2 separate regions of the Homo sapiens genome follow, and region 2 is linked to region 1. Evidence: promoter capture Hi-C in 16 types of primary human blood cells and fetal thymus (Javierre and others, 2016). All regions are on one chromosome and are shown on one strand. The core of a region is centred on a gene start or on the middle of the fragment in contact, and the rest is flanking DNA. Distances in the headings are between cores, read along the strand shown.

What was found. The method cuts DNA at HindIII sites, captures the fragments that hold promoters and counts their contacts. A CHiCAGO score of 5 or more calls a contact.
Region 2: a contact is called between a fragment that was not itself captured here and the fragment with the promoter of PYHIN1 in region 1, in 2 of 17 cell types (non-activated CD4 T cells and total CD8 T cells). The highest score is 5.9, in non-activated CD4 T cells.

What each region holds. Positions count from the first base shown.
Region 1 is chr1:158,930,302-158,932,801 of GRCh38, forward strand. It overlaps PYHIN1 (pyrin and HIN domain family member 1), which reads left to right and starts at 1,251. Exons shown (of 9, transcript NM_152501.5): 1 at 1,251-1,475. The HindIII fragment of the contact is 3,309 bases long and covers 1-1,770 here.
Region 2 is chr1:158,795,345-158,800,226 of GRCh38, forward strand. It overlaps a transcript of OR6N1 not described here and the pseudogene OR2AQ1P. Among named protein-coding and RNA genes, the nearest start is that of OR6N2, 17 kb to the left of the region's middle. The HindIII fragment of the contact is 2,912 bases long and covers 963-3,874 here.

The DNA.
Region 1 (2,500 bases), core at 1-2,500:
TTTACTGGAGAAAGCACTTGCTTTTCAGCCCGGAGAAGGCGCCACCAGGAACCTGAGGAATCTGGGAACAGATTTTACTACCTTCCCACGTTTTCCCACCTTTTAAATGACTGGAACTGCTTTCTCCTTTGCTTTTCACTATATAGAACGTATGGCTCTTTATTGAAATACTATTTAAACAAGGTTTCTAAGCCACAGCCTGGAGAGAGAAATACTTTTGAACTGAGGCCTATCCCTTGTGATGAGTAGAGCACACATTAATAAACTGCTTGTTTTTCTTTTGTTAATTTGACGTTTGTTTTCAGGAGAGTGTCAACTAATAACCTAAAAAGGGAAATTTAAAAAAAACTTGTTTTCTCCCCTACAGCTGTATTTCGGGCCCCATTTTCCACTCATGGCCACATCCTGCTTGCAGATCTGCTGCTGGGTTAACACAACATCATCTGCCAGTTGGTGTCGTTTATTTGACATCTTGGGGTTTTAGTACTCTGAAGGACACCCACTGCCCTTAACAGAAAAAATACTGCTGAGCAAAGGGTTTAACAGGACTCTCGGTCTACCAGAAGTTCAGTGCATTTTCCAGGATTTTCAAGGCTTCGATGCTGTCATGTTGTGAGCCCACTATCCACTTGTGTTTTTCCATGAATAATGAAGGAAACCTGAGGAATCATGAATGTAATCATTGAGGTAAAATAACCTAGTCATAGTCAAGAGGACAGCTAGTGTTAAACTCCTTTATATATATTTGAGAAAGGATTTATATATTCATAATAACTTTCTGATCTGGAAAGCCCTAGGTTTGTCAACTATTAATAACTGGGTGAATGCTTCAGGTAGTATTTAAACCAACTGCTATTTCATAGCAGACATTCTCCCATGCAGGAGATGCAGTAAAGTACTGGTAGCAATAGATGCTCCTACCAAGATCTCCCCCTGCAACCGCACAGGAAAGGAGGGAGAAGAAACCACCTTGCTTCTCTCATATTTGACAATCATTCATCGGAATAGAGGTCCCTAATGTCCCACATGTAAGTCTGCTGGTTAAGAAAGTTCTAAGATTGGAACTCCATTCAGATATCAACATTTGTAAGAAAAAAAATTTTAAATATAACTTTGATACAAATTTTACTTTGATTAAGATACCTACAGGAAAGAAACTGTTCATTTTCTCTAACAGGATGGAAAGCAAAAAATATGGGTGGGAGGAGTCTGCACGTTGTTTCACAACTTCTCTCTCCCCAGGGCAAAGCAGAGTATGAGGAAGCCAGCACTAGTCAAGTGACTCTAAGAAGGGCCATTTTCCCTTGTTGTCTTTGAAAATACTTCATTTTCTTAGCATTTCAGGAGATTATAACATCCTGTATTTCAGTTTCTGAGAGCTTTACTGACTGATTTCCCTATTCAAAACAATCCTCATTTCCTACATTTCTGAAGATCTCAAGATCTGGACTACTGTTGAAGAAATTCCCAGTAAGGTGAGTACTGTGGGTATTTTTTATAGAAAAGATCTAGATGCTTCCTTGAAAGCCACAAAATCACAAGGGAAAAATCGATATTGGTTCTTCAGGGCAGTGGGGTGAGGGCAGTAGGGCTGGTATCAACTATATTCAGAAAAGTGAAAACTGCAGTTAATACTTCCAATTCTTTACTTACTTCAAAGATAGTAGATATCCTTTATTCTACAACTGGGGCATGAATGAAGGAATATGCATTTTGACCATTGCAGATTTTAAAACAAATTCTCTGAGTATATATTCTCTGAGGTTAGAAAGCTTGGTGGCCATTGGGGTCTGGGCAAAAGACAAGATAATGATTTCATTCTTTTTTATGGATGCATAGTATTCCACGCTGTATATGCATAACATGGATACGGCTAGAGAACATTACCCTAAGTGAACTAACACAGGAATACCAAATACTGCATGTTCTCACTTATAAGTGGAAGTTAAACATTGAATCCATATGGGCACAAGATGGGAACGGTAGACGCTGGGGACTGCTTGAGAGGAAAGGTGGGAGCAGTATGTGGGTTGGAAGGCTATCTATCTGGTACTATGTCGCTACCTTGGTGATGGGATCACCAGACAACAAGCCTCAGCGACACACAGTTTACTCATTTAACAAGCCTGCACATGTACCCTCTGAACCTAAAATGAAAGTAGAAGATAAAATAAGACAAGATAATGATGTGCACAAAGTATCAGGAAATAATATTAAGTAAAAAACACATCTAGACATACAGCTGTATTTTACGGTATCTCAATTTTACAAAACATGTTCTCACACAAAAACATATGTGAGAACATTTTGTAAATAATATTATTCTACAAGTGCAAACACATAGTAGAAAATGTATCCATTTTGCAAACACAATTATTCAAATAATTCAAATAATTCAAATGTGTCAATATTTTCATAAGTATGTTTAACTTTTACATTAGCATCATTCTATACCAGATGTGAAAGGCAGTTTTTTATTCATTTTAAGATTACTTCCTGC
Region 2 (4,882 bases), core at 1,169-3,668, 130 kb before region 1:
TTTCAGGCCACACCCCTCCTGGTTTGCTCATAACACAGGGGCATCCAGCTTCTGTGCCCATGTCTGTAGCACACTTCTCACTTGCTTGCTGGTTCTGGCCACTGTGGTTCACCCCTACTCAGATTATACTGCAAATCTCAGTTGAGAGCTTCTCTCAACCTGTGACCACTGCCTGATGCCAGTAGACTTCTGCAAGGTCCCTTGTGAGGTAGGATCAGGAATGGCTTCCCTCCATCTCCAGTGGCATCTGGGAGTGCATGCAAAGTATGTCCCCATGTTGTTCCTTCTCATATTTTGCCCACTGCTCCCTAAATCAGCCCCAGCATTGAGTAGGGATAAGGCCTTCCCCCATGGCCTGGATTGCCCAGCTCCCCTCTGGGAATGTGTGTTATGGCAACAGTCTCCCCACTGTGGGAATGTGTGTCATGACAGCGGTCTCCCCACTTCTTATGCTCTGGAGACTCAGTTTTCTGTCTGGTTCACAGTGTAGGCTGCTGCACACTACTTCTTTCACAGAGTTTGCGGCTTCTTTCAGTTTTCCTGTTAAGTTCCTGTGCTGCTTCTTGGAAAAAAGTCCACAGCATGAATCTCTACACACCATTTTGTCTTTCTAAGTGGTAGAATCACGTTAACAATGCCTTCAACCTGCCATCATGGAAAAAAAGTAAAAGTGTGGTCACCATGTTCTAAGGGCCCGCCATGATCACGTACTTGAGGTCTGACTCCTAGTATAACCTACAGTGGGAAAACAGTTGGTGCTGTTCTACAGCATTGTCTCTGCCTTCATAAAACCCATCATCTCCAGCCTCAGGAACAAGGATGTAAAAGGGGCTTCTTGGAAAGTACTTAGAGTCAAAGGGACAGCTCAAGGACCTAGTATGCTTCAGAGTTTTCCATAATCATGGGCAACCTGGAGGGGTCTTATTTGGTACCTTAAAAGTACATCAGTTATCTTTTTGTTAAGCTTTCTATTCTTTGCTCATGCTCAGCTCCCTCTTGAACTTCAGTTTTTTAGATTTGCTCCTCTGAGGTAATTTTCTATGTCTTGTAGGCTTCCTTCATTTAGTTTCATTCTTTTTTCTTCTCTGACTGTGTATTTTCCAACACCCTGTCATTGAGCTCACTGGTTCTTTCCTCTGCCTGATCCATTCCGCTGTTGAGAGCCTCTAAAGAATTTTACAGTTTAGCAAATATACTTCTAATTTCCAGGGTTCCTATTTGATTTGTTTCTCACTATTTCAATTTCTTTGTTAAAATTTTCTGATACATTTCTAAATTGCTTTTTTGTATTATTTTGAATATCTTTGAGTTTTATTAAAACTTCTCTTTATTCTTAATCAGGGAACTTCCCTATTGCTGTCTTATTAGTGTTGGTTACTGGTTCCTTGCTTTGTCAATTTGGGGAGCTCATGATTTTCTGTTTGTGTATGTACATTTGTCTTTAAATTGAAAAATTATTTATTCCAGTCTCCTTTATCTGATATATTTTTGTTTTTATTGGATATGTTTGCTTAGCGTTTTCTTTACAACTTACCTTTTTTTTTTTTTTGTAGGTCACTGCCTCCTTTTCAGCACTAAGTGGCAACTAAGTCCAGGTTTACCTCTGTTTTAGCAGGTGTTCAGAGTGCTGCCTGTCCAGGATGGGGGAGGTCCCAAAGGGGATAATGCAGCAGAATGGGAAAGCTGTCTAGGATTTTGTGCCCAAGAGACTAACAGAACATACCTCCTACAGTGAGGTTCTACTGAACACTCTAATTTGGCAACTCCTTCAGCCAAGATACAGAGAGTTTCCCAGGCTGGGGATGCTGCTAGCCCCACCTGCCCCCTTTGTCTCTGTCATTCTTCAGGAATTTTTCTCCATTCAAGTACTTGTGCACCTTTCTGTGTGTTGAGGCAGGAACAGGTCTCCTGCCAGGAAACCCAAGATGTTGAGAAAGCTGGCTGTCCATCTTGAACTTACCTTTTCCAATGTAGTAACTGTGAATCAGGGGAAATTTCCCAAATGCCTGGTTCATGACAAATCGGGGGGAAAGCGTTATACTTATAAAAATCCGATTCTATCACCCTCTGCACAGCGTTTTTACTTCTCTGCAACCCCAGAAACTATCTCATCCTTCTATTTGGGTTCTGGGATATTGCTAGTGATAATTTCTGCACTGTATGTGTATATTTTGTTGTTTGTTTTTTATTTTCTATGAGATCGAGGGTAGTGGAGCCAGGTTGCTTCTACTCTATCATTTTGGTGACCTAAGTCATATTTTTTCTGTACAATATTAAATAAAAGTAATATTGGTAATTAATCTTGTTTTGTTCTTAACTGGGATTATTGAATTTAGCTTAGGAATATTTGGAGGAAGACTTTTGCATATATGTTAATGAATGATATTATCATCTATTTTTTCACATTACTAGTTTTATTTATTTTGGAATCACTGTTAGGCTATCTTTGTAAAATGCACTGTTGAGCTGCATTGCCAGTGTTTTAATTCTCAGAAGAATGTAAAAATAGGAACTATGTTTTTCGTCAATATTAGATAGAACTCACTTATTAAGCAAGCTGCCACTGATGTTTTCTTTCTAGTGATTTTTTAACTTCTAATTTAATATCATTTAGATTTTATATTAATTCTGATGTTGATATTTCTAATTTATAATTTTTTAGAAATGAATCCAGCCAATTTAAAATTTTAATTAACTGGCATATATTATTAGTAATATGTTATTATAACTTTAAACTTTGATGCATCTGTAATTCTGCCAATTGTTCATTCTTAATCTTTCTTATTTTTGCCCCTCTCTCTCCTTTATTTTTTATTAGTCTTGTCAGGAGTTTATTTTTATTTTTAGGAACCAACATTTTTATTAGTATATCATTTTTGTCATATATTTATTTTTATTGTATTAATTTCTGCTCCCAGATTTTTTCTTACACTTTCTTTTTTTGCCCTAACATTATTTTTCTAATTTTTAAACTTGAATGCTTAGTTAATTAATTTTATACTTTTTAAATAATATTAAATTTAAGGCTATAAACTTCTAAAAAGCACTTTTTCCCAAATATTTTGAAATTATACTTTTTGTTATTGTTCAGATATAGATGTTTTCTACTTTTCCTATGATACTTCTGAGAGTAAGTTGTATGGAAGTATTTTCTTTAAATATCAAACATATGGACATGTGAAATTTATCATTTATTTATTTCTAATTTATTTATATCACTAGTAGAAGCAGAGGTCTATATTATATTAATATTATTAATTCTATTAACTGTATTGACACTTGTTTTATGGCCAAGCATTTGTTTAATTCCACTGTGCTTGAAATCAATCTTTATTCCATGTGCCTCCAGTAGGTGGACCTTGTTAATTATTCTACAAATAATTTATATATATACTTATGATTTATTTGCCTGGTGTTTTTATTCCTAAGGGGAGAGATTTCAAATGTCTTACTCTGATAGTGGGCGTGTTAATTTTCCTTACAGTGCTTTTACGTGATTACTGTGCAGCATGGAAAGCCACAGACCTCCTTCCACTGCATGGCAGAAAGCAGAGCAGAACACACAAACCGGGCAGGCTGGCTCCCTGGGAGAAGAGCACAGGAAAGAACTGTGCTACATATGCCCAGTTCCCCCTTCCAGTCCCACCAATTGGAGTAGACGGCTGGTTCTCAGACTTTAACTTGCATGCATAACATCCTGAAGTTATTAAAACACCAATTACTAGACCCCACTTTCAAAGTATCTAATTTAGTTGATCTGAAATAGACCTTCTCATTAAAATAAAAATCTTTTTCTATTGCTAAAGTTTTTACCTGAGAAGATTCCAGGTGACTTGATCCCCATTTATCTCACACCTAGTCAATGTTTGGAGAAAGCTTAAAAAGACTGTATGATTTGTTCACCACGTTAGCCAAAGAAATGACGAACGTACCCATAAAATATTGGCATTACGTTTAGACCTTAATAAACATAGACAAAAAATACCTTCCCAATAATTACTCTGCAGGCTCATATAAATCGTGTTTAAAAGGATTTTCTCTCTCTAGCCTACGTTTAAGTAGAAGGTCATTCAAGTGAAAGGTCATATGTAGGCTGACTTGTGGGATCATATATGTTCTAAAAACCCACAGTTGTCAGGGATGGTAAGGAGGGTGAAAACTCAGTCAACATGATTAGATCCTCTTGGTTTTTAAATGAAAGTTAAATCTTTTGGATTAAGTTTAGAATCTACCTACTAACTAATGTTGAAAAGACATTTATCTATTTACCTTCTGTGGGAGATTTAATGAGAAAATAGACAAAGGACATCCAACTATAAATCGTATGTTTGTGTAGTCAGGGATCCTTGTATAATCAAGGATCACAAAATTAAGCGACATCATGGGATGGTTTGTGTAGTATGAAACCCAAACTTACTTCTGGAAAGGAAAATTGAGACTGCAGGAGTCTGAGAGAAGAAAGGGTGGCTGGACAAGACTTGTGAACCTCCACAGCCAGCCATGTTGTCTACAGATATGAGTTACTCTATGGGAAGATAGGGCCCTAGAAGAAGTCTATGACTCATTGTATCTGCTTTCCCGCCTACATGTGTTGCATGGTGCTTGGTGCCAGAGGCTTTCTACTTCAGATAAAATGGAAAAAAAAAAGAAGCCAAAAGGTATACTGGAAAGCGTTAGAAAACGTTGGTGCTATCCCATTCTCAGTCTGTTTCTAAGTTGCCATGTAACCTTAATTAATTAAGTTATTCCCTACCTCTTGATTTCAGTTTTATGTTTTTGTAAAGACAGAGGGGTTTAGACCAGATGACTTCTTAAGCACCGTTTAAATCAGAAGTTCAATGATTCTCAGTGACTTCCTGGTGGAATTCACCTAGCTGCAAAT